2 separate regions of the Homo sapiens genome follow, and region 2 is linked to region 1. Evidence: promoter capture Hi-C in 16 types of primary human blood cells and fetal thymus (Javierre and others, 2016). All regions are on one chromosome and are shown on one strand. The core of a region is centred on a gene start or on the middle of the fragment in contact, and the rest is flanking DNA. Distances in the headings are between cores, read along the strand shown.

The links. Contacts are between HindIII fragments. The CHiCAGO score rates a contact against its expected background, and 5 or more counts as called.
Region 2: a contact is called between a fragment that was not itself captured here and the fragment with the promoter of CREB3L1 in region 1, in 1 of 17 cell types (M0 macrophages). The highest score is 6.0, in M0 macrophages.

The regions. Positions count from the first base shown.
Region 1 is chr11:46,276,316-46,279,015 of GRCh38, reverse strand. CREB3L1 (cAMP responsive element binding protein 3 like 1) reads right to left here and starts at 1,354. Exons shown (of 12, transcript NM_052854.4): 1 at 803-1,354. The coding sequence starts at 904. The HindIII fragment of the contact is 5,299 bases long and covers 1-2,700 here.
Region 2 is chr11:46,122,630-46,125,329 of GRCh38, reverse strand. LOC105376661 (a long non-coding RNA gene) reads right to left here. Exons shown (of 3, transcript XR_931252.4): 1 at 1-2,700. Among named protein-coding and RNA genes, the nearest start is that of PHF21A, 2.5 kb to the right of the region's middle. The HindIII fragment of the contact is 2,216 bases long and covers 303-2,518 here.

The DNA.
Region 1 (2,700 bases), core at 105-2,604:
GGCTGAGCCTGAGAGAGGGAGGGAGGGAAGAAGAGAGAGAAGCCACGTTTCCTTAGGGAGGGAGGGGAAGAGTGAGAAAGAGGAGAAAGACAAGCTCACAGTCGGACCTAGTCAAGAAGACATAGGGAGAGGGAGAAAGTCAGCCAGACTCCAGGAACAGAGGGACAGAGCAGAGATCTAGAGGCAGATGGAGAGAAATGGCTCCCTCCTCCTGAGCCATCACCCTATGTTGCCCTGACCGCCTCTTCCCAGCCCCCAGCCTCAGGTCCCTCCCTGGGGTGGGGGGTCTCTGGGCCTGATTCCCTGGGGCTGCCAGGGTAGCACCCTGAAATTTCTGGGCCTGGCTTCCCCGAGGGGTCGGGTCTCAGGCCCTCTGAACGTTCCCCGGTGCGCCCCCCAGCGGAGATCCAGCCTATGAGCCACCGAAGCCCCAAGGGAGGCGCAGGAAAGGGCGCTGCCACTTTGCGCCCAGTCTGGTCCTGGAACCTGGGGTGGGTTGGGGACGGCTAGAAGACGTGGGTGGAGGGCGGGATTGGTGTCTCTTGAGCTCAGATCCGAGGATCGGACGGACCCGATACCTCGATGGCCCCTTCCCCCTAGAAGGTGGAGGCCAGTGTATTCAAAGATTGAGCCCCCAGGAGGGGCGCTTAGCTCCAAACACATGTCGCTCCTGGAGACCCTGCGCTGAACCCTCTCCCCGGCTCCTGCCCAGTGATGTGTAGTCGGGTCCTTCTAGGGGCCCAGGCGCGCCGCGAGGACGGGTGCCGAGGGGTGGAACGGGAACGGAGACCCTTCATCTTACCGCATTGTTGAGGAAGTCCGACTCGTTCAGATCCCCCAAGTCCAGGAAGCTGGATCCGGGGAACAGCCTGTCGGCCGGGAAGGGTTCCAAGACGGCGTCCATCGCAGCCGGCTCCCGGGACCCCCTTCCACTGGGCTTCCCTCACTCCAGGGCGGCGGCGCGCCCAGTCCAGAGCTCCTGCCTGAGCGCTGGCAAACGGGCGGGGGGCAGGTCCGGGGCGAAGCCCCGGGGGAGGGGCGGACGGAGGCGGCGCGGCCCCGGGTGGGGGGCGCGGGGCGCGCGGGGGCCTTAGGGCAGCGGCTAGGAGCGGGATGGGCTCAGGGGCCCCGGGCGCACCGTGGGCATTCAGCCGACTCCACCTCCTCCTGCTCCTCCTGGGGCACAGCTGGCTTCCATGGGGAGCCCGGGGTTGGGGCTGAGGGCTTCAGGAGCCCCCCGGACAGGGTGGGAGCCGGGGCGGGGGAGCTAAGTGCTCCCCCGAGACTGGGTGGCTGCCGGCCTCTCCTCTGTCTCTGCGTCTCCCTCCGCACGTCTTCTGTCACTTTCCTCTCTGTGAAACCGGGAACCCCTGGCTGGCTAGCCCAGCTGGCCAAGGCGCCACGCCCCCACATCAATATTCACAATAATTTAATATTAATGAGAAGAGGGCGTGGCTCGAGGAATCCTCTCTCCTTTTTTAAAGAGACATCTGCAACTTCGTCTTAGTAATCTCTCTTCTCTGAATGCTCAAGGTGGGGGCTTAAAGCAACAATAGTCCTGGAACCGATAACAGTGTTCCTGGAACATTGGCATTTTAAGGCTTCACCAACCACTGTCCCGTAAATTGATGAGGGAGCTATTTCCATCCTTCCAGCCTTATACTAAAGCCTGCACGAAACCCAGTCAGGGAATTCCATTTCACAGTCCCCTCAACAGATCTCCCCTCAACGGGGGAGATTTTCAGCTTTTTAAAAATTTTATTTATTATTATTACTATTTTTTTGACACGGAGTTTCGCTCTTTTTGCCCGGGCTGGGGTGCAATGGTGTGTTCTCGGCTCACTGCAACCTCCGCCTCCCAGTTTCAAACGATTCTCCTGCCTCAGCCTCCTGAGCACCTGGAATTACAGGCGCGCCCCACCACGCCCAGCTAATTTTTGTATTTTTAGTAGGGACGGGGTTTCACCATGTTGGCCAGGCTCCTCTGGAACTCCTAACCTCAGGTGATCCGGCCTCCTTGGCCTCCCAAAGTGCTGGGATTACAGGTGTGAGCCACCATGCCCAGCCGATTTTCAGCTTGTAACTCTCATTTCTCATCTCACCTGTTTCTTCTTCCAGGAAGCCTTCCCTGAACCCCCAGGCTGGAGCAGTTACCAACGGTATACACCCACAGGGCATCATGTGCTCACCTCCACTGTTTCCAGTCTAATGTGGTATTGTCCTTATTTGCTCACATTGTTTGTATCTGTGACCCCACTGAGCTGTGAGGCTCCTCAGGGCAAGGACAGTCCCCAGCTTCCCTCTGTGTGAAAGGGCTGGGTGAACAGCCAGAGATAGGAGAGTCCCCCTCTTCTCCTCGATAGTCAAGTCCCTCCCTACCCCCCAATGGTTCTGAAGAGCAGGAAGTTGGAAAACAGTGGTTCTGGAATCTGAATGAGCCAAGGTGCTGGCTGGCTGCACACTCCACAGTCACCAGACACTCCCAGGGCCCCGGGATCCATTACCTAAGTGGCTTGCTCCTGCGTACAAACTTAATCTCTTGAAAGGGCTGATAGCAATCGCCAAGCACCTGAACAAATGGAGGTGGTTCAGAAAGGCACTCCCTCAGAGGGCTGGGCACACTGTTTCCTGACCAGAAGTTATTAATAAGATTAAGCATGTCCTTTCTGTCTGGGACGTTTAATTAGCTCAGGAACCAAA
Region 2 (2,700 bases), core at 161-2,660, 150 kb after region 1:
TGATTATGTCATTCATGTCTAAAAGTTGAATGTCTCAAAGCAGCTTTTGACAGTAAACTTTCAATTTCTAGCTTATTTCTGGAATTTCTGCTAACATACTAATTGTTATCTTTTTTCCTTTAACACTTAAGCCATTTAGCCCTTACAACAATCTCACAAGGTATTATCTTTATGTTTAAGGAACACCAGGGTTCAGAAAGCCTAGGTATTTTGTATAAGGCCACAGAGCTAGTGTGTGCCCACAGAGTGCCTGTGTCAAGCACACAGAGATGCTGAGAGCTTGAGAAAGACCCACCAAAGCTTATAATGCCAACCTCACAATCTTCAATCAACACGAGAGTCCCTGAATCCCACATGCACATCTGCACCATCAAAATACTGGGATGCCACCTGTTCACCTTCTTGAGTTATGTTAACTAAGAAAATGAATTTAAGGGCACAGTGAAAATGCATTATACAGTTCTATGTGCCAGGACTGTGCTAAGCACGTTACATGAATTATTTTATTCAGTCTTCTCGAGAGCCCTACTTAGTAGGGTTTTTGTTGTTGTTTTTGAGACAGGGCCTCACTCTGTCACCCAGCTGGAGTGCAGTGGAGCAATCTCAGCTTACTGCAGCCTCAACCCCTTGGGCTCAAGTGATCCTCCCACATCAGTCTCCAGAGTAGCAGGGACTACAGGTGCGTGGCACCATGCCCAGCTAATTTTTGCACATTTTGTAGAGATAGGGTTTCACCATGTTGACCAGGCTGGTCTTGAACACCTGAGCTCAAGGGATCCGCCAGCCTCGGTCTCCCGAAGTGCTGGGATTACAGGCATGCAACACCTTGCCCGGGGCTGGAAGTAGGTATTCTAAGCTGCAATTTACAAGATAGGAAAACTGAGGCTGTTAACAGAGATTAAGCAGCCTGCCCCAAAGTGCCTTAGTTGAAGGAGCAATACTTCCAGAGTATTTTTTTTCCATTAAGTTTGGTAGTTACAGGAGTGTTAGACACTCTTATATTCAGCTAAAAATATTTTAATTAAATATCTAGACAATGACTTTGCATAACATTGATTTTTGGTTGCTACCACACATCTTAATAACCAAGCACCCTTTGGTACAAGTTCAGTGGTTAGTCCACCTTAAGTCTTTTTTTATAGCAAGGATTGGTAAATGACAGCCCGTGGGCCCCATCCAGCTCACTGCCTGGTTTTGTGAAGTCCCCAAACTGGGAATGTGGTGCTTTTTAAAAAATTTTTCTTAATGACTGAAAAAAATCAAAAGAATATTTCAAGACATGTGAAAAGTACATTAAATCCAAATGTCAAGGCCTATAAATACAAATTGTATTAGAACATAGCCAGATTCATTCATTTACATGTTGTCGTATAGATGCTTTTGGGTTATAACAGCATAGAGTGGAGAAGTTGTGACAGGGACTGTATGGGATGCAAAATCTACGATATTTACTATCTGGGCTTTTACAGAAAAAGTTTGCTAACCCCAGTTCTATAGCATGATACAATTAGAGGTTCTGGATTTTTTTCTATGAAATTCCAAAAAAAATTTTACCTTCTTTTTCCAGAAAGAACACCAAAGCAGTCTTCCTATGAAAAAAGGTTGATAGCCTGGGATGATTTGAAATCACACCATTAGGTTATAGTTCCAGTGACTGGCCAGTGGGTCCAGCTTGAAAGACCCCCTCCCTCATTTTAAATACATTACAGTTAGCTCTAGATGGTAAAGCTGGGTCTTACTACCCAACCTGTCCTCCCGTTATTCATCTTGACTGCGTTATGGGTTTAGTTTCACAACATTATGAGTTCATCTAGGCTTCTTGAATCATTTATAGGAATTTTCATTTTCACTCTCAAACTCTTACACTTTCGCTGCTGTGAATTTTTTTTAACATAAAGCTCAGACTACTAAATGGCCTACACATGTACCATAAAGTCCATATTTTATTTTTTAAGAAATCAGAATTTTTAAAAATTGCTTTTTCTTGAGAAACTAAACTTAATTTTGCAGGTCACGAAAGTAAAAAAATACCTTCATATCCAATGATCTCAAAGCACCTCTTGTGAAAATACATAACAAGGTAATAGAAATATTATTTAATGGAAAAGATGTGACTAGTAAAGTCCAAGGCTATTTCTGGTTCTGCGAATGACTCACTTTGACTTTGGGCAAATCATCTCACCACTGTTGCTCTTTATCTGCAAAAACTGGATTTCATGCCTATGGGAGTTGCATGGCTAATCAATGCCTGGAAAATGCGTAGTGGCAGTTGCTACAAAAGTGCTGAGCTTTAAAAACAAAACCCCCCACCCCCCCATTTGTATTCAGTTGAGGTTGGGGTTTATTGTTATTTAACATTCGAAGGCCAACACTATGTTAAGTCCAGAGTGCTGCACAGATCAGATAATATCACTGTCCAGTAGGGGTTTTTTTTAATCTAAGATTTTTTACTTTTAAAAAATTTATTGTGGTTGGGGGTTTAGAATCCGGTAATACATCCATACAAAAACGTTAAGCTTCAAGTTGAAAACTATCGATTCGAAAATCTAAATAAACCCCCTCCAAAAAAAAAAAAAAAGGCCCTCCCCCGCCCCGCCAAGAAATCTCTCAAAACAAGAATTCTTCTGATGTTTTTCTCCTCCCTGCAATTCTCCATGTTACAGTCCTTGGAGGTAGAATAGGCATAAAATACTTTCACTA